Regions from separate parts of the Homo sapiens genome. Here regions 1, 2, 3, 5 and 6 are each linked to region 4. Evidence: promoter capture Hi-C in 16 types of primary human blood cells and fetal thymus (Javierre and others, 2016). All regions are on one chromosome and are shown on one strand. The core of a region is centred on a gene start or on the middle of the fragment in contact, and the rest is flanking DNA. Distances in the headings are between cores, read along the strand shown.

Region 1 (3,918 bases), core at 1,419-3,918, 2.5 Mb after region 4:
TGTATCATAATACTAGCAGTTTTAAGAGATTAAAAGCAAGATACATTGTTTCTCTAGATCAGTTTATAAGGAAAATATACAACATATACTCTGGTATCATAGAAATATAAACTGGTTTTTCTAATAAGAACTTGTTGATTCCTTTAAAAATTCAATCCATTAGTCAATTCATTATTGAAGAAGGAAAGAAGAAAGGGAAGGAGGGAGGCAAAGGAAGAGAGGAAGAAGGAAAGAAAGGAAATTCTTCTAAAGTATTATAATTTCACCAATGTATCAGCAATTTCTGTAACAGTTCTTTAAAGGGAAGAACTTTTAAGAAACTCGGTTTATGGGGTTTAGAAACATTAAGTTCTAAACTTTCTAACTAAACCTGCTTAGTTAAGTTATACCTAGAATATCAATTGACCTTCCTCCTCTTCCTTCCCACATACCTTTTTATCTCTTTCTCTGTCTCTCCTCCTTCCCATTCTCTCTTCCTTTCACTCTTTTCCTCTCTGTCTCTCTCTCTCTCACACACACACGTAATGTGTTTAATTCCATTATTAGTTCAAAATAAGGTAATCCAAAAGAAACTCTCTAGAGAAATGGTAGAAAGAATAAAAACACACATCAACTTAAATATGTCAAAGAGCCATATCATTTATTGGCTACATTCCCAAAACCATTCTTGTTCTAGATAAACCAATTGTGTCTGGTCTGGACAAGTGTGGCTCCAAAATCTCAGGCAGTTTACTTCTGTCAGTGGTATTATTAGAAACAGCAGGGGGAGGAAACAATCCCAATCTTAAATCCCAGTGTGCAAATATCACAGTTCTAGGTGTTCCAAAAGTTTTATATATCATTGTCCATCTCTACAAATATCAGCTTGGATAAGGCATCTCAGTGATTATAAGTTTCCTCAACATCCCTAACAAATCCACAGGTAGAAGAATTAAACACCATGCAGAGATAAGTTCCACTTTAACCTGCAATTCACCCAGAGCTTTAGTTTCAGATTGTAGCAACTCACATAACTGGACAACATTTGGATCTATATTAGTCCAGTATAGCAGAGTTCAAGGCTGTTCATATAAGTTTTGATTCAAAACTCTTGAGAAACTCTTTACAGTTGATCTCACCTTCCATATAATGTCAAAACAAAACAAAACAAAAACAGTCCCAAACTAGGATCCTTTGGAACAAAGTTAACCTGGGGTGCATCTAAGCTAAACTGAATCCCCAAGTTCAGAATATAATCAACTATGCTTCAGGAATTCACTAGATCTTGATCAATTCCAATAATAAAAGTTGTTGAGGAGGGAGGAAAAAAACAGGTGTTTGCCCCATTTGGGGAACTTGACAATCATGTTATTGGATAATGCATATATCTGGAAAAGCACAATAGTCACGAAAGTTGTGCTTTATCACAAAAGTGAAGATTTACACTAGAATAAATCCAAATAATAAGTCTATTTTTTAACCAAAAGATAAATTATAAAGCTGTAATTTTGTTCAGTGCAAATGAAATTACTTTGCTACCTTTCACAATTCTGTAATTAGTTTGATAAATATTAAACCCATGAGGAAGAGCTCCACTGCACAAGTTTCTTTTTTAAAGACTGCTTAAAAGTAACCTTCAACAAGCTAAGAAAACAAGCTAAAGGAGACTCCAAATCTGCGGTACTGAATCTATTCTTATTACCAACGGTGATATAAACAACCTGATTTATGAAATCATAAATATCTATCAATAAATACTATAGTCTTGCTTCCTTTTACTTTAGTAAAATAATATTACTGAATTATGTACCACTGAAACTATATTACAATAAATATTTCCCCCAAACTGAAGCAAAACTTTACTCTCAAATGGAATATAATTTAAATTACAAGTACCAGAACCAACAAAAGGGAGAAATATTATATAGCAACCTTATGGCCCACCTGTCTTCTTGACTGGCATTCTTGGGTCTTTCCACTGCCACAGGAGTCAATATCTCTTTTCAGGTCTCAGTTTGATCCAGCTGGATTGAGGCCAAGAGCCAGGTAACTGTTGCAAACCACTTCAGTGTTCAGTTTTGAAATCCAGGCTGAGTCTTCTATGTCAGACAAAGAAAATAATGATGTATTTTTTCCACAACTAAACTTTTTACACCGCCCACAGAGTTTACAGCAACGTAATTTTTTAGTTTTTCAAGTTTTTCAATTTTCAGAAAATATTTAGACTGTTTTTACAAACTGGGAAAATTATTGTAAACATGAAGAACGTTACTGAAATTCCTCTTCAGGCAGCAACATTTTTGGAAGTTCAATGACTAACTCAATTAAGGCACAAACCAAATTTAGACAGGTCTCATTACTTTATACATGGTCAAATTCAAAGATGATGATAAAGATACTCAAATCTGTAGAGAAAAATGTAACCCCACCTCCCCAAAAATACTTTTAAAAATCTCTTTGACTCCAGTCTCTAAAAAGATAGGTGAGTTTGAACAGTTTTCTGTGGCAGAACACACATTGAAAGGCCCCCTTATATTTACTGATCAGAAGTTCCGGATCTCACCCCCTCAGTAACTCAGAATCCAGCTTGCTGTCCCTTTCATTTTTTTCTTCTGTGCTCTCCAAGCCCCCAGGCTTGATCCTTAATGCCCCTCTGATTCTGATCCTCCCATGTATTAACCGAGAGGATTGAAAAAAAAGGAAAGCAATCCCTTGGCATGGAGACATTAAAGTGACAGTGCTACTCAATGGGCACTTGATGCAGGATGAGTTGGCGAAGCAGATTTCTTCACACTGGAGTCATTCACATCATGCCATCTCTTCGCATTCAAGCAGCTCCCTATCCGGCGAGGAAAAACACTGAGACTTCGAGAGAAGCCAAACCTTCCCCCAAAGGTGTTTTCAGAGACGCCGTAGTAGTATTAGACATGTAAGCATAAGCTATGTAAACGGTCCGCGATTTCCTAAATGAGAAAGTGCAGCTGCTTGGCTTTCACATCCACCTTTTCTCTCAATCTCTCTTCAAACTACCCACCTTCCTTTTGCAGAAAAGACAAGACATTTCTTTGCCACCGCTGGCCACCCCTGCCCAAGCCCCGTTCTTTTAGGGAAGAGCACTGAAATGTCCTGCACCCTCCACGCGATGAAGTGTTTCCTCAGGCAGGAGCAACAGCAGCACTAGAAATTATATAACTCTCGAATTTGGCTTCTGTAAGACATGGAGACTGGAGGGTCGGGGGTTGCCGGTCTGGGAGATACTGCTGGGCATTTAACGTGCACAAAACAGCGCCAGGCCTTGCAGTGCCCCCCACCCCGAGACACGGCTGACAAGTGGGTCTTCTCGCGGGGGTAGTGGGCAAATTTCTCTCCGGTCTCTTTCCAAGCGGGGCTAAAGGATGCAAATTGAGGGGACTACAGACTGGGGAGAGGAGTCAGACGGCTGAGAGGAGAGGAGGCTAGTCGGGGCTGCTCTGACGGCGCTGGGCGGCTGGTCCGGGGTTTGGAGGAGGAGGTGCCCGAGAAACAGAGCTTTAACACCACACAGGCCAGGGCAAAGGGGCGAGTTCCCTCAAGGACTGAAAGGGGCAGGCAGCTAGTTCCCAGCTGCCCTGAGGAGAGGCAGGAGCGCAGTAACATTACAACATTCGGGCCGCCCCATCTTTCCCGCAGGACGCGAAGAGATCAGGGAGCTAAGCTGATAAATAGTCAGGGAAGGAAATACTCGGCTGGCGAGGGGGGCAGGCCCACAGGCGCCTGGACCTCCTCTAAGCGAATAAGTGGCCGTAATTTCTAGACGCCGCGCCCAATCACAGTCAGGATGGAGGGCGCGGCTTTTGACTGAGTGGGGGCGGGCCCGGGCTGCAATCGAGAGGCGTTGAGCCGTAAATCAGCACCACTTCCCGCCCAGGGCGTTCTGGGTCCCCGCCCACCGGCAAGTCA
Region 2 (3,964 bases), core at 448-2,947, 2.5 Mb after region 4:
AAAGGCATCTTTGTGAGTGAAACTGGCCTTTAGCTTCTGTTTAAAGAAAAACATAAAGCTGTGCTGCCAAAGATGAAAAACTCATGTGAAATTAATAAAATACAATCTCAATTTTTCAGAAAGCAAAGATGATTTGTTCTTTCAACAGGCACATAAAATATATTATCTACCAAACTTATATAAAAAATGATCCCAGTTATGAGGCAAAAGAATCTATGTGCACAAGAGACTGAAAGGAAGCATGCCAAAATGTTTACTGTGGATATTCTATGGCTTATAGAGTTATAAGGGTGATTTTTCTTTTCTTCTTGATTCCTTTCAGGATATTCCAAGTTTTCTATAAAGAATATGCTTTACTTTTACAACTAGGGAAAGAAAGACAGAAAAATATATATAACATTTAAAGGGCAAAACAATATAGCTGTTTATTTTACAGGCTAAAATATCAAGATGAAAAGCTCTGATCCCAAATCATCCATTTTACCTATATTCTGTCACTTTTACTAAAAGCAGAGTTCTACTCATCCCAGTGAAAAAAACAATGAATTAAAAGTAATTTCTGGCGTTAACCCAAGTACCGAGTTAAGACTCCTTAAGAATATAGAATTATGTAATCAACTTAGATAATTCAAAGCCCAATGATATAACTAAGTTCTTTGACGATTGAGCACACATTGTTTCCTTACTTATCTTTAAACATTCCTAGTCCAATTACTCCCTAGCATAATACCATTTATAAATGAGGATGAGTTTACAATGGTTTCTGTAACCAAAAAGTATTTCTAATATCTGTCCTCTGCCACATATTTTTAAATTATCTTTTCCATTAGCAGAAATGGGCAACATAAGCAATAAATCATGTTAAGTCTGTTGCTACAAATTTACTTTGCCAAAATTTTTGTTCAGAGGGCAGATATCTGCATTATTTAAGGACATTTAGTCATTTGTAGCTAACACCTGAAGTAAACTACCCTCAATCAATTTTTATATTTCAGTCTAGTCACTGTAGACAAACTATTTAAATCTTTTATAATTTACTTTGTGTAGTTATTTGGCTTAAAAAAAAAAAAAGAGGGCTCACATTCTATTTAAATTAAGACAATATATTTTATAAAGCCCAAATTATAGTACACTAAGAGCCAGAGGGGTCTAGGGAATTGATCTCAGTGGGTATACAGCAAAGACAAAATTTGGAGGCAGACGCTAAAGGAAGTTGAGATAAATAAAATTCAAATCAGTGTATTAACAGAACTACACAAATGTTTACAACACAGTAACTACACTTTTCAATTAGTTCATTGTGAAAACTGAGCAAAATATTTTCAACAATTTTGGGTCAACAAAAAGTATGGAATATTTTAAGACAATAAAGAGTGACTGGTGTTGAGAGTACTGAGGCTACACAGAGGTACTGAAATTCAAATCTGAAAAATACTGTGCTGGCCACACAACACTACAAATTTCTAATGGAAGAATTCCCTTTTTGATCCGCAGCTTAGGTGGTAAGTAAATAAAAAAACAGCTCAGAAAAACAGCAAAAATATTAACATTTAGGAGTCTCAAAACTTTGTATTGGCTGTGAGTCTGGGGGAAAAAAACATAAATGTCATACTACCAATTAAACTTTCAAGAGTCATCAGATTATTTAGCTTTAAAATTTTACTAAATCAGACCTTAAACTACACATTCAAAATGCTGAACTAGATAATCACATATTAAAAAGGTAATGACTCATTATCAGTGAATTACCCAGTCTGTTCTATCAAAGTAGTAGTTAAGGTCACCAAATAATGTTGGTGCCTTTGGTTCTGGAATTATAACTAGCTGTACTGTAGGAGCATCAGCGCCTAAGTTTTAAGCCAGTGGGAATACTCTGCTGCCTGGCTTCACAGGCACTGAATACACTTAAAATGGTAAGAAACTGAATGGATTTAATAAGTTTTGAATAATACAATAACCAACTGTATATTTATTATGAAGTAAAAGCCAATCTCCTACCCAATCCCTCTTCTATCAGCTGCACATTTCCAAGTAAGTGAGATAAAATGACTCAATCTAAACCACGTGAAGGAATGTATTAACATAATCCAACAAAAATGAAATAAAACAATCCAGAGTTTTGAGTGTTTTTTCACACTTGTAATAAACTGAAAAAATATTTCAATTAAAACAACCATATGCCACAAAAAGCCACTCCCATCATCCACAATACTAAAGTCCTTATACAACACTAGATAAATTTTTATATAAAACAGTAGAAACTAGCATACCATTAATTAGAAACCTCAAAATATTCAGAAAACAGTATCAAGTACTCAAGAGAAAGCTCAAGAAGCCAAAACCTCAAGAATCCATACATCCTGGTTGTTACCCTAAATTGTAATTAACTACCCACACATTTAATCATAATCAACTTTTTCAAAGATATACAAATCAATGCATCTATTTAAAAGGACTACTCTTTATAGTTCAGAACTTTACATTAACTTTTATATTCTACTCAGCAGGGTGTCTGTCTGTACTCCAAATTAGCTCTCATGTTCCAGGAAATAAATACAAACTCATATGCCTTGTGATCACTGATGGCCTGCTTATGTAATTCTAGTCCACTAAATGTTAATTCCATAGAATATGCTCTTGATTATGTAAAAACTCTAATTTCTTGATGAAATACTGTAATTCTCCAAAGGTTACAATTTTGTAAAGATATGCAATAACTGAGTATCACTCCCATGAAAGACAAAAAAAGTATAATTTTGTTCCAAGATTAACTTAGTCTCATGTATCTCTATTAAGTCTTTCAAGGATTCCAGAGAATCTTTTCATATCTCCATTTCTGGAAAGTGAAATCAGTATAGAAGTAATTTGGGAACTTGAAAATGGCATTCATTTTTTTCAGCAGATGCCAAATTTTTGACCGACATGGTTCTCACAATTACTTTGTTACCAACAGTCCAGTCAGTTAACAGGTTGTAGGAAAAGATTCGTTTTTGCAGACACTGCTAAGCTGTTCAAAGAGAAGAGAGAGAGATTAATTTAGTGATTATAAAATGCACAAATATTTAAAATATTTTGAACACTTCTTGTTGGATTATATCAGAGGTGTGACTACATTTTAACAAAAGTGGACTTTTTAAGATAAGTCTGGTCAAAGAAGTGCAGAAACAGTAAGTCAATATGATAGAAATAGTAGGTCAAAATATGATGTGTTAGTTCAATTAATGTATGAACTCCTGCCACCATCAAAAGACAAATATTAAAAAGCTACATCTTTAGTCTAGTTCTGTATTTTACCAGAGGCACATTTAGAAGAAAAACAAAAGGGTCACCCAAATACTAAATTGTTTTCAACCATTACAGTAAATAGAGCCAAACCTAGAAATTTCAAAAACAATCCATTTTATATTCCAGAAATCTCCTTTATCCATGTGCTAATCATCCAGAACACAATTTTCTAAAAATAGTAAGACAACAGTTTCACATTAATCATAACTTTTTTAATTAACAAGTAGTGAATCGGACACTTTAAGATATTGTTTACTACATACTGAAATAAACAGATCTGTTTAAATTCAGAAACCCAAACATTTACAGTAAAATGTGCTTACACATAAATATGACCAAATTTATTTAAAGCCCCTATTAGATAGATCCTAAGTACATGCAATTACCATGTAAAAACAAGACCATGAAGTTGATGTAAAAAATGACAAAATCACTAAGTCACCAAAACTAGAAAAAAAAAAATGAAATGGAAACTGAGAAAAGACAGTTAATAAAACATAAGGAACCTAACAAAGCAGCTTTAAAAATAGGCCATACTAATCCTTCCATTTTCAAAAGTTCTTATCAAGTAATTCCAAAAACTGCCATTTATAAAATGACATTCTAAAAATCTACACTTGGAATTTCAAAGTATCTCAATTCAGAAAGCTTTGACTACTGTTTCTCCCCAGCCCACAAT
Region 3 (4,169 bases), core at 1,618-4,117, 2.4 Mb after region 4:
TTCATTTGGCCCATAAGCATCATTTGATATTGTCACACTCTTGAAAACACTTTTTTCACTAGGCTTCCACACAGGTGTGCTGGTAAATACTTAAAAACTAGTTCAGATAAAAAGGAAAACATGGGCACCTACACGCACATGAGTTTGTTATAATTTTACTGACACAAGGATGTATAGCAACCAGTCTACAAATAATAATAAGATATACAACCTTTAATTGTAAATTCCATTAGTCAGTTGATTCTCAATAATATTTTTATTGGTTTTTACCAAATTCTTGTATTCATAGCCAACTTAGGGTTATAACTGATGAATGAGTAGTTCCAACATATATGTGGTTTGATTATGTTGTCATATTAATAAAATGAAAATAAAACAACAAAGATAGTTTTTGTGAAAACCTCACTCAATTATGTTATTTGTTTACTGAATCAGATAATAATTTTTGAATAGTGGACAAATATTTCCTCAATTTCTGTACTAATATCAATGTAACAGCAACAGACACAAAATGCTTTTAACTTGCGCTTAAATTATTAGTATTTACTTTATCACTTTCTTATCAGCAAAACAATAAATCAAGCCCAAATTTGTAGCATTTGCAATTTCCAAAGTCTAAATATTCCCACCATGGCCAATTTCAAGGTACCAACATGATGTCTCTGAACATGGATCTGAGAAAAGATGCACAGCAGCATACCATTATGTAGCTTATCCACCGCACAAATACAATCAATGTAAATAACTCAAGAGCAGAGATGGTATGAAAATGAAAAATAATTAAGAATTGATGACTGTTGAGTATTTATTACTTTTTAATATAATTTAGTTAAGTTTATGTGTAATTATTTTTGTTAGTGATGGGGTCTCCCTACATTGCCCAAGTTAGTCTTGAACTCCTGACCTCAAGCAATCCTCCTGCCTTGACCTCCCAAAGTGCTGGGATTACAGGCATGAGCCACCATGCCTGGTCCATAGTTTATGCATAATTTTTAAGTGGTTGAGTTTAACTTTTTTTTTTTTTGAGATGGAGTCTCACTTTGTTGCCCAGGCTGGAGTGCAGTGGCGTGATCTCGGCTCACTGCAACCTCCGCCTTCTGGGTTCAAGCAGTTCTCCTGCCTCAGCCTCCTGAGTAGCTGGGACTACAGGTGTGTGCAACCACACCCAGCTAATTTGTGTATTTTTAGTACAGACAGGGTTTCACCACGTTGGCCAGGATGGTCTTGATCTCTTGACCTTGTGATCCACCCACCTCGGCCTCCCAAAGCACTGGGATTACATGTGTCAGCCACCGTGCCAGGCTTTAACATTTTTGAAATGGCTGTATTGTCTTGCAAATTTGCTGAAAATTTAATGATAAGCTCTTGCAAGCTGACATGAGCCGTCTCCAGCACACCATTATTTCCAGGGCAGCACTCTCTCCCAGATTGTTTTCCCACTTCATGGATGCCCTTTCTCAATCACATTTATTAGTTCCCTCTAATTTCTCAATGAGGGCTTAAGATGTTTAGAATACCTCTGAACATGGTAAGACTTCTTTAATCTTACTCCCTGGATAATCTTACCCAGTTTCCTTGATAATCTTATCTAATTCCGTAGTTTTAAATATTACCAGCACCCTCAAGACTTCCGAATGTATATCTGTAGCTCAGAACTTTACTCTGAATTCCAGACTCATATCCAGCTGAATGCTCAACATTTCCATTTGGATGTCTAATAAGCATCTCAAACTTCACTTGTCAAAACTGAACTCCAGATCTTATCCACCCACCCTCAGTCTGCTTCTCCTCCAATGTATCTCCATCTTTCACCCTTCCAATTATTCAGACCCAAATTCCTGAAGTCAGCATTCATTCTTTTCTCTAATTCTCTACATCTATCCATCAGTAAATCCTGTGGGCTCCAACATCAAATTATATGCAGAATCCCATCACTTCTCCCTACCTCCAGTGCCACCACCCTGGCACAACCCATCATCATCTATCCCCTACATTACTGCAATGTTCTACTAGTTTACATGCTGTCACCTTTGCCCTCCTACAGTCTTTTCTCTTTTTTTTCTTTTTTCTTTCTGTCTTTGTTTGTTTGTTTTGTTTTTTGTTTTCTTTTAAGCAGGATCTCTCTCTGTCACCCAGATGGGAATGTAGTGGGGCAATCACTGCACATTTCAGCATCAGCCTCCCAGGCTCAAGTGATCCTCCCAAATCATTTTTTGAATTCTGATTTTTTTGTAGAGATGAGGTCTCACTATGTTGCCCAGGCTGGCCTACAGTCTTTTCTAAACCCAATAGCCAAAAATATCCTTTCAAGTCATCAACTAGATTATGTCATTCCTCAACTCAAACCCTCCAGTGTCTCCCCATCCCACTCAGAGCAAAGGCCCACCTCTCTGACTTCAGCTCTTAGACCTCTCCTCTTGCTCAATCTACTCCAACCACAGTATGCTGTTTCTCAAATATATCAAGAACTCTCCTATATCATGGCCTCTATACTTGTGATTCTGCCTATAACACTCTTCTCTCAGGTATCCATAAAGCTTGCTCCTTCACTTCTTTCATATCTCTGCTTATATATCATCTTAGTAGTAAGGCCTTCCCTAATACTCCTATATAACATAGCAAACTTCAAGCTTATCCCCTTGAAGGAAATGAGAATTTCAATTGGGCAATAAGAGATGGAGGAGGACATTGCGTAACTACTCCTCTTCTATCTAGTAAGATTAGAAATATAGAAATAAATGTGGATGAACAGAGAGCTCACTCCAATTTATATTAACAAAGAATGGTGATATAAATGTGTGCTAATATATTTGCATAAACTTTAATTTTTAAAAATGATTTCACACTTTACTTGCGTAATGTTTTAACAACTCTGAATCAAGGACAAATATTTTAATCCCCATTTTGTCAATAATTAAACAATCAGCAGTTTCCCCAAAATGATGGTGGCTCACTTTCTAACCCATCCCTACACACTATTTACAAATATAAATAGTTACTTTACTTACCACTGTAGGTGATCAACAATACAATAATTATACTATACCTCTCTCTCTACTTATATGTATCTGTGGGCTCTAATCACGTGATTACCTCTAGTGCCCAAAGCTTTAGTCTTTTTCATTTCCTCATTAAAGTCTGCCGACATTTTTCGGGAAACCTACAAGTGCTGAGCACCTTTTTCTTTTCTCTCTCTTTTTTTTTTTAATACAATTATAACTAAAGCCTTTTTTTTTAAGCTTCTGTGGCATTGTTGTAGGTATTACCCTAGTCGTTTATTCTTTTAAAGGGCAATTCTTGGCCAGGCACGGTGGCTCACACCTATAATTCCAGCACTTTGGGTGGCCAAGGTGGAAGGATGGCTTGAGACCGGGAGTTCGAGACCAGCCTGGGCAACAGAGCAAAACCCTTTCTCTACAACAAAATTTTAAAATTAGCCAGGTGTGGTGGTGCACGTCTGCACTCCCAGCTACTCAGAAGGCTGAGATGGGAGGATCATTTAAGCCCAGGAGTTCGAGGCTTCAGTGGGCCACCATCCTGCTACTGCACTCCAGCCTGGGCTACAGAGTGAGACCCTGTCTCTAAATAAATAAGTAAAATACCCTGTCTCTAAGTAAATAAGTAAAATTAAGAGCAATTCTCAAAAATGTATTAACAATATTCCCACAATCACATCTACAAATATAATTAGATAAGTAAGGGGAATTTCACTCACTCATTTAGCATATATTTATCCAATAACTATAAAGGGAAAATACTGTATTGATTCAAAACAGCTAGATGTTTTCTAAACCAGCAGAGCTTACTATGCCTCTCATCGCTGTAGGATAAAAATTTGACACATAAAAAATGCTAAAATATTTTTAAAAGGTCGTATATAATCAAGTCTCCAAGTTAGGCTTTCACACACCAGCATCTAGGGCTGGAATTGTGGCTGCCCTTTTATGCTGCTTTTGATTATTGAGAATGATCATCACCTGGAGTCAATTCTATTATGCTCTTCAACTCTCTCTACTCAAATCCTTATTTCTGGTTAATGAAAGTTTGAAGGTAATCTAAAAATGACAAATTAAACAAATGAGACAAATGGCAAGGATCTTTTCATACAAATTAAAAATCCCTAACCTAATCTCCATAAATTGAATAAAGTGGAAAGCTGAGATAATTAT
Region 4 (3,983 bases), core at 414-2,913:
AGAAATGAAAATGTTACTTTATATGGGACAAGTAAAGAGTAGTTTGTTTGTTTGTTTGTTTTTTGAGAGAGAGTTTCACTCTGTCGCCCAGGCTGGAGTGCGGTGTTGCGATCTCGGCTCACTGCAACCTCTGCCTCCCGAGTTCAAGTGATCCTGCCTTAGCCTCCCAAGTAGCTGGAATTACAGGCGGCCGCCACCATGCCCGGCTAAGTTTATTTTTTAAGAGCAATTTCTTCTGGGGAGCAACAAATTATCTCTCAAATGCCTAGTAGCCTACGGAAGGCAATGGAAAAGCAATTTTAGGTAATTGACACTTTTTTTTTTTTGAGACAGACTCTCGCTGTCACCAGCCTGGAGTACAGTGGCGTGATCTCGGCTCACTGCAACCTCCACCTCCCGGGTTCAAGCGGTTCTCCTGCCTCTGCCTCCCGAGTAGCTGGGACTACTATAGGCGCACGCCACCACGCCCAGCTAATTTTTGTATTTTTAGTAGAGACGGGGTTTCACCATGTTGGCCAGGGTGGTCTCGATCTCTTGATCTCGTGATCCGCCCGCCTCGGCCTCCCAAAGTGCTGGGATTACAGGCGTGAGCCACCGCGCCCAGCCCGTAATTGACACATTTTAAAAGCTTATATTTAGGTCAATATCGCTACTCAATGAAAAAATTACGTTTGGTTTGTGTTATGTCGCAGCTCCACGGTGAACTATTTGAAAGCTTTGTGTGTTTTACGAGCATCATTTCCAACCTGGGAAGACAGCCCCACAAGTTTAAAACAAAAGTGCATGCGCGTGTGTGTTTTCCTACGTGCCCCAAATAGTGTATGCTAAGGAGGTTCTGAAATGCAGATTCACAGTGGAGATATTACGGTCCAGCTGGGTGTGGCTGTTGTGAAAAACTCTTCCTAGAGCTCATAGTGGGCTCCTTAAAGAGCTCCTCCAAACCCCCAAGGAAAAAGCCTTTCACACTTAATCTCTAAATAAAAGGCATTTTCCTGGGGATTCAAGTCAGGCAAGCTCGCCTAGGTATTTTTGTGGGTGTGGGAAGCGGCGTGCTGGAAGAAACTCTCCAGCAGTGCTTTCCGAAGTTCCGGGTAAATTGGGCACCTCCCTCCCACTTCCCAGTTCCCAGAGGGGCAGCTGGACCCGCCCTGGCTCTCCAGAGCACCTGAGACGCTAAGGGAGAGGGGGTGCGGCGGCAGAAAGCCTCCGCTCCCTCCAACCCCCGCTCCCTCCAACCCCCACCGTCGGTAGCAGCTACGGGGCAGGCGGGAGGAAAGATGATTGACAGGCCCGCTCAGTGGCTGGGAAGCTAGAGGGAGGGACGAAGAGGGGACGGCTGAGTCTTCTTCTCAAAGTGGTTGGGTTGGGCCGCGGGAACTGCCTTCCCAGGCCTATTGGCTTCCCTGAATGGGTTGTTATGGTAACAAATGACCGAACAGTCCCTTATGAATCGGCCAATGAGAAGGGCCGTCTTTTCCAGTGCGCCTCCGAGCAGTAGATGTTGCGAAAGTCCGGGTAGAGGCCGGAGAAGAAGGCGGTGCCAGGGCGTCCTGCGGAAGGGCCGGGGGCGGGGCTCGTGACGTTGCCGGGACAGCCAATCACGCCTGGTTTTATCAGTGGCCCCGCCCTTTTACCGCACATTTCCCCTCCCCTAGTTCATTTCGCACGACGCAGCGGTTGGGAACACAGACATTTTCGGAGCTGGAGCCGCCACTGCCGCCGCCATTTTGTGTCTGTGGAGAAAGAAGCTTCTGTGGCGGCTGGAAGTGGACGGAGATCACCCGCGAGACGGCGGCGTTTCATACCCGAGGTTCCCCCTGTGTCGTCCCCCATCCCCCCTCCGCGGTCAGCATGTGGTGAAGCCGGAGCCGCGAGAGAGCCGGGGAGAGGAAGAGGAGTCGGAAGGGAGGCGGGGTATCCAGAGCGGCTTCAGCTTCAGCTGCAGCGGACCTCGGAGGGGGGCCGCGGCGCAATGTCAGAGCAGACGCCGGCCGAGGCCGGTGCTGCGGGGGCCCGGGAGGACGCCTGTCGGGATTATCAGTCATCGCTCGAAGACCTGACCTTCAATAGCAAGCCGCACATCAATATGCTGACCATTCTAGCCGAGGAGAACCTGCCCTTCGCCAAGGAGATCGTCTCTCTCATCGAGGCCCAAACCGCCAAGGTTTTTATACACCCCGCAGCCTCCTATTACTTCTAATACTCCCTGATTTTAGTGTCAGCCTCATCCCAGGTCTCGCTTCCATCCCAAGGGGGACAGTGTTCCTTCTCTCCAACCCCCCCACCCCCCTCCAACTCAGGCTCGGTCTTTGGCCCAGGCTTCGAGCATGGGCCTCTGGGGGGGAGGGAGTGGGGAGGATAAAGGGTGGAGTCCCACTTCCGCTTTCCAACTCCCTTTTTAGGCCACCGCATTGTATATCCCGACACACACACGCTTTGAATAGAGCCCTTTGGGGTGGGGGAGACTTAAAGGCAGTTTGTGGTTTGGGGAAGTAAGAGTTAACATAAGCCATTTTAATTCCCTGGGAAGTGGGAGAGTGGGTCTCCCATTTTCCCCAAGCACCCTTTTTGGTAATTGTGTTCTGTGGGTTGGAAGGAGGTGAAGGGGGACCTGGGAGCGAGCTGTTGGTGGGTGGGAATAGGGATTTGGCCCCGAGTGGAGCAGCCGCCTGTTAGGAGCCCAACATGGCGCCTGAAAAGCACATGATGCGAAAGGGAAGAGAGGAGAATCCATTCCCTGCCAGCCAGGCAGCTGCTCACTCCCGTCAGCCCCATTTTGGGGTGGGGGCGGCTAGATAAAACTTTTATTCTCCTATTGGAGGGTCTAATTTGTCCCAAAATAGGGGCAAGTGGGGTTGAGGGTGGGGTTTGGGTGGGGGGAGGAGATCTTATCCAACCTGTAGGTGGAGAACTGGCCCAGAGGGTAACAAGTACTTGCAGTTTCTCTGAAAAGTTCAGTCCCTCCTCCTCTTCCTTTTCTCTTTTTCTCCCTTCCCTGATAGCGAAGGAGTGTTTTTCTTTACCCCTTGACAGAAGTGGTCCTCTGCCACCTTATATTTCCCTGTAGTCCTCCTCTTCTGTGGATTCATATGGGAGCGATATGTCATTTAAGTAAAGTTACTGTTCAACTTAGTTACAATGAGTTTTAATAGCGTCCCAGTGCTACATTTTATTTTTCAAGCTTGTACTCACGGTTTAGTTTTTTCTAGTTGTTAGTGATTGCAATTATCAGGATGAGCCTCCTTTTAGCAGAGTGAACCCCTTTTTAAAGGCCACTTTAACAACAACCACCAATATATTGTTTAGAGACGGTTTCTGTCTAGTGTAAAACTTGAGTGGTCTGACTCTAATAAATGGTTTTGAAATGTGTGACTGGTATTATAAAATTTGTGAATAAAACATATAAAATATGTATTTGTCTTTTTTATTTACCTTTGTAAGGTGTAGAATCTGTTTCCAAGACTTATTTTTATCTACGTGGTTGTGTGTTTTAAACAAAAGTCTTTAAGTGACTTGGGTTCATTCTTCTTTAGGTTCCATCCACTCTTTTGGGTAAACCTCTTCACAAGATACACGGTTTCAGGTGGTCCTTTCATAATTTAAAGAGGACGAAAAGGAAGGGTTTTTTTTCTTTTTCCTTTTAAGGACCTCAACAAGTTTATCATGCTCAGTCTGACAGCTAAGATACAAGTTTTCGTTCACTTTTTCCTGTGAAAGTGTATGTAAAACAGCTTTTTTTTTTAAGTGTGAGATTTAAAAAGGAAGCATTCGTCATACTCAACATGCTTTTTATTGATACCACAAACATCTTGGACATGAAAACTTAGTTTTTGCCTTGTTGAAGGCTTAACTTGACATTAAATGCCTTAAAGCACTTGTGTTTTTAAGGCAAAAACATTGATTTTTAAAATCTAATTACCTCGTATCTTGGGATTTAATATTCCACAGCGCCTAATATTTAGCAGCTCAGGTTGTCACTCAAA
Region 5 (4,108 bases), core at 1,405-3,904, 2.6 Mb after region 4:
GCAACACCAACACTAGGAAGGGACTCACACCATTTTCGCTGAAGTTGTAGATTGGCTGATGCCAGAGGGTACACACTCACACCCCTTATAAGGCCTAATTTCAGGCAGAACTTTGCATTTTTTGAGGATATTTTCATCAACCAATGCAAGTGCCCAAGAAACACCTTCACTCTATTCAGACAGAATCATAGAACTACAGACAAGACTCAGCAGCTTGGAATCCCAGGTGCCAAGAAAAGATAGAAGGGAGGGAGGAAATGAAAGGAGGCTTTCTCCTCGTAAGCTGACTATCTAGAGGGGCAGAATTGCAGACCATAAATAACACCTCCTGAGCAGAAGGAATCAAAGGTACTTGCACCTCTCCAAAATGCAGGGGCCCACATCCTGAGGTAGAAAGAGAGACTCAGTGCAGTCCCAGCTCTACTGCTTTCTAAGTCCTTCCCCCAATCTTTTCTTTTGGGAGGGTAAAGGAAATACCATTTCCCCTTATGCTTAAAGAATCAATATTTTCTCTATGCTCCCCCACCTCCTGCCCTTACTCCTCAATGGTTGCAATAGTCCCTGCTTTGCCAAATGTCAGGGTTGCTGTGAAGAACATAAGAGGATAACATTCATAAAAGGGCTTTATAAACTGTCAATGGGTAGAGGATTAATGCTACCAAGAGGCTCTAATGCCTGGGTTAGTGACAATCCTTCACCTCTCCTGGGGACACTGTTTAAGGCACACCATTTGCGGAGAAGGCACAGCAGAGCCCCATCCAGGTGTGCATTGCAAGGGACCTTTGAGGAACAGCATGATCCCCACTACCTACAGCCACTGCTTGTCATCATAGCTCAGTGTCCTACTTCACACCATGACAGCCAGCCCCTTCCTCCATTGCCAGGTCCTGGGATGGCCTGTCTGTTATTGTTTTCTCAGGGAGAGGAGGTGGAGTTAACAAATGAGTACCTAAGACTGGGATTTGATTCTCACTTCTGACACCTACCAGTTGTGTGATATTGGGCGAGTCACCTGACTTGTCTCAAAGTCAACTTCCTGACACATCAAATGGGGTAATTATATCCCACTCCACCCACCAACCGCAAAAGAGTATGTGAGCTCATAAAAAATAATGGGCATGTTAAGCCCTTTGCAACTTGTTAAATACTGTCTATATAGAAGTTATTTTAGTAGTCATAATCAGACATTCTGTAGTGGTTGAAGTGAATTCTAGCATGTTCTTTTATAAATCATCCACGTTAAATCAGTGTCAAGATACGGAAATGGTAAAAATAAAGCCATTATTCATGGTCCTGTGTCCCAGGAAGTAAGAACATATCTTATGCTCCTTTTGGATAACTCCTGGAGCGAGAATCATAAAATTAATAATACTAACTTACATTCAGGAAGCCTGTCGCTGCCTTCAAAGCCCAAGATTACACAGGCAGTAAATGGCAGGGCCTGGACAAAGTCAAGTTCTTCAGCATCCTGGCCTAGTGCTTGTTTGACAACAAAGGTGAATGAAAGTGGCAGGAATGTTGACATGGAACATTTGGGTTCCACCCAACAAGAATAGTGTATCAAAGTTGCCACTCCTCTTTATGGGACCCAAGACAAATGAAAAATTGGCTCAGAGAATACTTTCAGTTGCCATTAAAACCAATTCCAACATTTCTGAAAGCATGCAGAAATGTGAGCTAGTTTAATTTATTTTCTTTTCAAAATTCTAAAAATTTTTTAAAATTCTAATTTGGTTCATGATTCAGTTAAAAAAAAGTAGATCCAGTTTTTTTAAGTGGATAGAAATACACACACACACACAAATGTAGATGTATGTGGTTGTATACATTTCATTTTTATCTCAGTATTTAATAAGTTAAAGGAATTTAGTTAGGTTTTTAATCAAGACCCTATTTCTGGTAGGAGTCCAGTAGGATAAATTAAGAGGCACCAAGAGGAAAAATGTTTTGTCCAGGAAGTAAACCTAAAATTGGAATCCATAAATTCAGTCTTCGAGTCAGAACTACCACTTATAGTTGAAAAAAACCCCAGTGTCCTATTTTCGTACAGACTGCCTCTTCCTTCCCTCATGCCCAAGGCTTCTCTGGCCTCTTACCTGACTCTCTCTTCTTCGGCCCTCTTCAGAGCAGCATCCCGCTGCAAAACCTTCATGATGGCCTCTTGTTCCTCTTCAGTCAGGAAGCTTAAGTCAATCATTTTGAAAAGTGCATGCAAAAATAATAGCAACAAATGTGGCTCAAAATTCTCAGGGCTGAACAACTAAGACTGCAACCAGGAAGATTAAAACACACAAAAATGAAATATCTTGTTCAGTTCTGCATCAAAGTCTTATTTTGGCTCAGCAAAAGTTTAGGGCAGCTGATAGCAAGATCCTAAGTGCTCTTTCCCATGAGGAAGTCCTGGTCTGTGGGATAGTGTCGAGAAGAGGCTCTCAGAAGGATGCTGTATTCCTTGCCAAACAGGTCGCTTGTTCCTATGGTGGCTTCCAGCACACTCACTCTCTGGTCCAGTCTTAGACACAGTTTATTCTCTCTCTGCACCTGTCGTCAATTCATAAGAGGCAGCAGCATCAGAGCATCACCTACCTGGGGAATCATGAGACAGCAAACACCAGACAGTGAGAGGCAGTTCCTATAAGCACTACTCATTACTACAAGATTTTTAAATGGCCATGCGAGATGGTCTCTGAGATCAAGGAAACCAGTTCAGCCAGCTTCCTGAGCAAATGGTAAATGGGTCATGAAACATGCTTCAACCCTATTCCAGACGGCCAAGATGGAGAACCCACAAAAATGCCTGTCAGTGTTTAACGATCCACCTGAGTAAAGGATGGTTGCAAAAATGAACTGGTTCTCTCTCTGCAAACTCTGGGGATGCTAGGCTAAAAAGTCATGTTAAAGGTCAGTAAGATCAGGGATATGTGATTCCAGTGGTCAAGCAAGAATCTAGAAATAAAAATTTTAAATGCTCACCTCTTCACAAGTAAGAATATTCCACTGTACTATATATGTGCTCCATATTAACAGGAGAACTAGTATTAGATAGAGATAGTTTGCAGAAGAGTGAGAATTGTTATTCTTCATCCAGTCTCACTGCTAACCTTTGCTGGACCTAGAGGAACCTAACAAGCTTGTCTACTTTCATTTCTCAGGGGAAAAACACCTACCTGTGTGTGTATATAAACTGGAGGAAAGGAAGAGGCAGAGTTTCAAAACACCTCACCATCCAAAGTGAGGATTTTTCAGTTGCACAATGTGCAAGAATCCTATTTTCTTTGAGGCATCTTCAATACATATGTAATGGGAAGGAAGTGAGAAGTGAAGAATGACACAGCCCTACAGAAATTCGGAGGTGATCCACTCAAGGTTGGGGCACTTTTAACAAGTGCAGTGCTGAACATACACACTAAAAACCTTTAGTAAATTTTAAAGCAGGCTGGGTGCAGTGGTTCATGCCTGTAATCCTAGCACTTTGGGAGGCCAAGGTGGGTGGATCACCTGAGGTCAGGAGTTCGAGACCAGCCTGACCAACATGGTGAAACCCCGTCTCTACTAAAAAATACAAAAATTAGCTGGGTGTGGTGACACACGCCTGTAATCCCAGCTACTCAGGAGGCTGAGGCAGGAGAATCTCTTGAACCCGGGAGGCGGAGGTTGCAGTGAGCCGGGATCACACCACTGCACTCCAGCCTGGGTGACAGAGTGAGACTCCTTATCAAAAAAAAAAAAAAAGAAAGAAAAAAAAATTTTAAAGCAGCCCCACTTAAGAATAAAACAGTATGTACATTAGTGAATAAAATTTATAAAAATTAATTACTTGAAAAACAGAATTACTGGGAAGTTATCCTTCTACCACTTACTAGCTATAAGTCATTGGGCAAGTTACCGACCACTGTGAAGCTGTTTTCTCATTTGTGCTTGACATTAGGATGTCCCTCACAGATTGTAAGGATTAAATGAAATAATGAATATAAAAAGAGCACATGTCTTGCATTCTGTACCAAAAATAGCTACTAAAACTATATTCTAGCTTCCGCTCTGAGTTCACACTTTTTTTCCATCCAGCTGAATAAGACTATACTTAGTAATATATTTCTCTTTTGTATTA
Region 6 (4,116 bases), core at 937-3,436, 2.9 Mb after region 4:
TACTTGAAGCAACTGCCAATATAGACTAAATTTATTCAACAGATAGTTCTTGCCTTCCTGCCATGTGCCAGGCTTTTCTAGACGCTATGATAAAATAATGTGCAAGACAAACAGGGCCTCTGTTCTTAGAGATCTTAGTGTCTAAGTCTTAACAAAGGAGAAAATAGGTAAAAGTATGCTGCACCTGAGGAACCTTAAGTCATCGTCAATGACTTAAGAAAGTGGCAGAGAAAAGGAATATGGAAGAGAGAATTGACCAGAATTTTTACTTTTATTATAACACTTTGTTATCTAAATTATAATCTTTTGATATTAAGCTAACTAAACTGATATGAACACATGGCAAACCCTTCCCCCCTCACCTTTCTGTGTTTACACTTCCTGATGCTGCCAAATCAGTTAGAGATCATAACTTCACATAACCTTAAAAAGGTAAGGACTTTTCTTCATAGCTAAGTTCCCTTGCTAGAACCTCTAAACAAATAAAGTCATGTGCCGCGTGACATTTCAGTCAACAACACACCACAGATACAGTGGTGGTCCTATAAATTATAATACCATATTTTTACTGTATCTGTTCTATGTTTAGATATATGTTTAGCTACACAAATACCATTTTGTTACAGTTGCTTATAGTATTCAGTACAGTAATGTGTGGCACAGGTTTGTAGGTTAGGAGTAACAGGCTATAATATATAATCCTGGTGTGTAGTGGGCTATACCATCTAGGCTTGTGTAAGTGCACTCTGTGATATTCTGAAACCGACAAAATTGCCTAATGACACGTTTCTCAGCACTTACCCCATTGATATGTGATGTATGACTGTATTCCACTTCCAACTGCAGGAAACTTATTCAGGCTCCCAGAATACATATTTTTGACAATAATACATAACTTTGTTGATTACTTACCCTGTTCTAAGCATGTTACATACATTATCTCAGTTACACCCTAAAACAACTTCATGACCTTAAGTGGAGGAGACAGCAAACTGTGTCCTTTTCCCCCTGAGCACATAGTTAGACCACATTTCCCAGCCTCCTTTGCAATTAGTTGGGGTCTTGTGACTGACTTCTGTCCCACAGAATGTGGACAGAAATAATGAAAGCCATTTAAGGCTTGACCCATAAGGTCTCAAAAACCTCCTACAAATCTTCCACATTCTCTTTCTTTCCCTACTTGCGGGCTGAATGAAGACTTCAAAGAATCTAGAGAAGGTCAAAACCACAAAATGGAAGAAGCCTGGGGTCATAGATGAATCCTTGGAGGAATGCTGCCTGTGAGAACTGCATGACCAGAAACATAAATTATGCTGCTGGGCGCGGTGGCTCACGCCTGTAATCCCAGCACTTTGGGAGGCTGAGGCGGGTGAATCACCTGAGGTCAGGAGTTAGAGACCAGCCTGGCCAACATGGCGAAACCCCGTCCCTACTAAAAATACAAAAATTAGCCGAGCGTGGTGGCACGCACCTATAATCTCAGCTACTCGGGAGGCTGAGACAGGAGAATTGCTTGAACCCTCGGAGGCAGAGGTTGCATTGAGCAGAGATCACGTCGCTTCACTCCAGGTTGGGCGAAAGAGCAAAACTGTGTCTCTAAATAAATAAATAAAGCCCCTGAGATTTTTGATGCTGTTTGTTACAGTGATCAGCTACCCTACCTAATACACTTCTTTTCTCTCCATTTTACTGATAAAGAAATTAAAGCTTAGGAAAAGTTAAGTAACTTGCTTAAGCTTGCTCAGCTATTAGGTTGGGGAAGTAGGATTGGAGCTCAGATCTACCTAACTTTAGAGCTGGGCTCTCACTGCTTGTGTTCGTCGTGGAACTATTTCATGTACTTCTAAAATTTTCATAAAAATTCCATATGGCCCTTTAATACAAACTGCTACATCTAGCATGGCTACAAAAACAATAATCTGGGTAATCTCCAGCTTCTCTAACAAGTATGAGGCTCTCTTACTATCTTTAACACATTCCTGCCACACTTTCCTTTCTTTCAGATATATTACTTTTACAATTTCAAAATAACAATATGTTTGGACTTTTTTAGTTATTCAGAGATGATGTCTAGACTGGCGGTTAAATACAATCCTTCCCTTGAAAGGGAAAATTAACCAAACCTTGACCCTGAATCATCATAAAAAAACTGTCTAATTAGGCATGGTACAGTGGCTCTCAACTGTAATTCTGGCACTTTGGGAGGCCTCAATGGTAGGATCACTTGAGTCCAAGAGTTCTAGACCAGCCTAGGCAACATAGTGAGACTCCTTATCCACCAAAAATTTTAAAAATTAGCCAAATGTGGTGGTGTGCAGCTATAATACCAGCTACTTGGGAGGCTGAGGCAGGAGGATAGCTTGGGTCCAGGAGCTTGAGGTTACAGTGAGCTAAGATTGGGCCACTGCACTCCAGCTTGGGCAACAGAGTGAGCCTCTGTCTCAAACACACACACACACACACACACACACACACACACACACACACCACACACACAAACAACCTCCCTATGAAGCAGAATAAAATTAGTACACATGAGATGTTAACATACCTGGGGGCCATTTTTCTCTGTAACCTAAGAGGATGAATCAAGTAAAAATGTATTAGAACATGCAACATTGTGCTAAAATGAAATCAGAAGCTTAATGCTAATGTTAATATTGGGATATTGAGTTTTGACCAGTAGTTGTCGGAAAAATGAAGGAGATTTATTAATTCATTTGAAGCAATGGGAGACGTACTGAATTTGGAGTCAGACACATTAGATCTTGAACTTAGGTTCAAAACTCTGGGCAAGTTATTCACTTTCTAATACATAACGCAGGGATAATAGTAAATATCTTGCAGATTTCCTGTTAGGATTAACATAACGTATACAAAAAAACTGGTGCAATGCTTGACACACAGTTGTCACACCAAAAATAAGATTAATCAATATTTACCCAGGATTTGCTATGAGCAAAGTACTCTGCTACATTCTCAGGATACAGAGATGACTTAGACAAAATGCCAACGCAGTGTGTTAAGTACTATGATAGAGGTGTTGCATGCAGTATTAAAAGAACAGAGAAAAGGAACACTGAATTCTGCTTGGAGGAATCGAGGGTTTCCCAGGGGCATAAATTGCCATGTTCTTCTTTATATGTTTATCCTTTTGGCTTTGCATCTTTATCCTCTTGGCTATCTTATTCCCCCTCTTCTGGATTAAGGTCTTTGATTGTTAATGAACACCTTTGTCCTTTACTCATGGTATTCCCAAGACATTTGACAATTAACAAATATGGGACCAATTCTTCATACAGCAGTAAGGTTGAACAAACCCTACCCAAATTAAAGGGTAAAAGACACTTGATTATATAAGGAAGATCTAAATGGATTATGGCACATGCTTCCATTGTCCAGTTTTGAAAACCTGGGACTATGGCTTTGAAATACCCTGTGAACTCTATAATCATCTTTGTCTTAGTGTCTGTCTGCATTGCAGTTACTAGATATATGATCATCAGAGTCTTGAATGCTGCTGCACATCCACTGTTAAACTAGATAATTTACAGATGTTCATTCAACAAAAAGGATGAGAAGGTTTCATAAAGAGGTCAAAATAACTACCATGAAAAACTCAATACACCATTGCAACTTATTAAATAGCAATGCAGATCTGGACTGATCACGTCCCAGGTAATGATGGTGTTTCTTCCAGCTTGGGTTGAAGATTGGCTGAAAGAAAGGAGACTGAGAAATGAAGCAAAAACTATAATGATTTGCAAAATGAATCAACTGTACCATTCCGTGACATGCAACACAAACACAAAATTGAAGCCCTTGTTGTTCTAACACCAACTTGCTTAGAGACTTAGAAGTTAAACCACAGATGAACTGATGTAACTGTAACTCTGCAGACACATATGCTCTAGTAGCTCATCTAGTTGACAAATTTAAACCAATCCCTGCACTGGCTACTAACGTGCACCATAAATTCCCCCCTATGATTAACACCAGCCTCCTCTCAAATCCTGTAAGTAATACCTTTCCCTAACTTCCCCCTTTTGAGACATTTTGAGACTAAAATTTTGTTATGGTGATGCTTCTCCTTATTAGTAACTTTAATAAATCCAG

What was found. The method cuts DNA at HindIII sites, captures the fragments that hold promoters and counts their contacts. A CHiCAGO score of 5 or more calls a contact.
Region 1: a contact is called between the fragment with the promoter of DLG2 here and the fragment with the promoter of PCF11 in region 4, in 2 of 17 cell types (fetal thymus and erythroblasts). The highest score is 10.9, in fetal thymus.
Region 2: a fragment that was not itself captured here is called in contact with the fragment with the promoter of PCF11 in region 4 in 5 of 17 cell types (fetal thymus, naive CD8 T cells, non-activated CD4 T cells and 2 more); the score reaches 11.1 in fetal thymus.
Region 3: a contact is called between a fragment that was not itself captured here and the fragment with the promoter of PCF11 in region 4, in 1 of 17 cell types (M0 macrophages). The highest score is 9.3, in M0 macrophages.
Region 5: a contact is called between a fragment that was not itself captured here and the fragment with the promoter of PCF11 in region 4, in 1 of 17 cell types (activated CD4 T cells). The highest score is 5.1, in activated CD4 T cells.
Region 6: a fragment that was not itself captured here is called in contact with the fragment with the promoter of PCF11 in region 4 in 1 of 17 cell types (fetal thymus); the score reaches 6.6 in fetal thymus.

What each region holds. Positions count from the first base shown.
Region 1 is chr11:85,624,676-85,628,593 of GRCh38, forward strand. It overlaps DLG2 (discs large MAGUK scaffold protein 2), which reads right to left and starts at 2,669. Exons shown (of 28, transcript NM_001142699.3): 1 at 2,543-2,669; 2 at 1,912-2,078. TMEM126B (transmembrane protein 126B) reads left to right here and starts at 3,918. Exons shown (of 5, transcript NM_018480.7): 1 at 3,918. RefSeq lists a silencer at 576-776 and enhancers at 2,715-3,223, 3,096-3,255, 3,336-3,385, 3,526-3,715. The HindIII fragment of the contact is 9,013 bases long and covers 1-3,918 here.
Region 2 is chr11:85,657,591-85,661,554 of GRCh38, forward strand. It overlaps CREBZF (CREB/ATF bZIP transcription factor), which reads right to left. Exons shown (of 1, transcript NM_001039618.4): 1 at 400-3,964. Among named protein-coding and RNA genes, the nearest start is that of CREBZF, 5.6 kb to the right of the region's middle. The HindIII fragment of the contact is 4,467 bases long and covers 1-3,931 here.
Region 3 is chr11:85,600,335-85,604,503 of GRCh38, forward strand. All of the region lies in intron 2 of DLG2 (discs large MAGUK scaffold protein 2), which reads right to left. Among named protein-coding and RNA genes, the nearest start is that of DLG2, 25 kb to the right of the region's middle. The HindIII fragment of the contact is 478 bases long and covers 2,629-3,106 here.
Region 4 is chr11:83,155,468-83,159,450 of GRCh38, forward strand. It overlaps PCF11 (PCF11 cleavage and polyadenylation factor subunit), which reads left to right and starts at 1,664. Exons shown (of 16, transcript NM_001346413.3): 1 at 1,664-2,164. The coding sequence starts at 1,973. RefSeq lists silencers at 1,240-1,319, 2,770-2,829 and enhancers at 1,520-1,569, 1,634-2,423, 1,720-1,969. The HindIII fragment of the contact is 1,033 bases long and covers 714-1,746 here.
Region 5 is chr11:85,755,529-85,759,636 of GRCh38, forward strand. SYTL2 (synaptotagmin like 2) reads right to left here. Exons shown (of 20, transcript NM_206927.4): 2 at 2,097-2,586. The coding sequence starts at 2,197. Among named protein-coding and RNA genes, the nearest start is that of SYTL2, 54 kb to the right of the region's middle. The HindIII fragment of the contact is 947 bases long and covers 2,182-3,128 here.
Region 6 is chr11:86,073,346-86,077,461 of GRCh38, forward strand. No RefSeq gene overlaps it. Among named protein-coding and RNA genes, the nearest start is that of PICALM, 6.3 kb to the left of the region's middle. The HindIII fragment of the contact is 905 bases long and covers 1,735-2,639 here.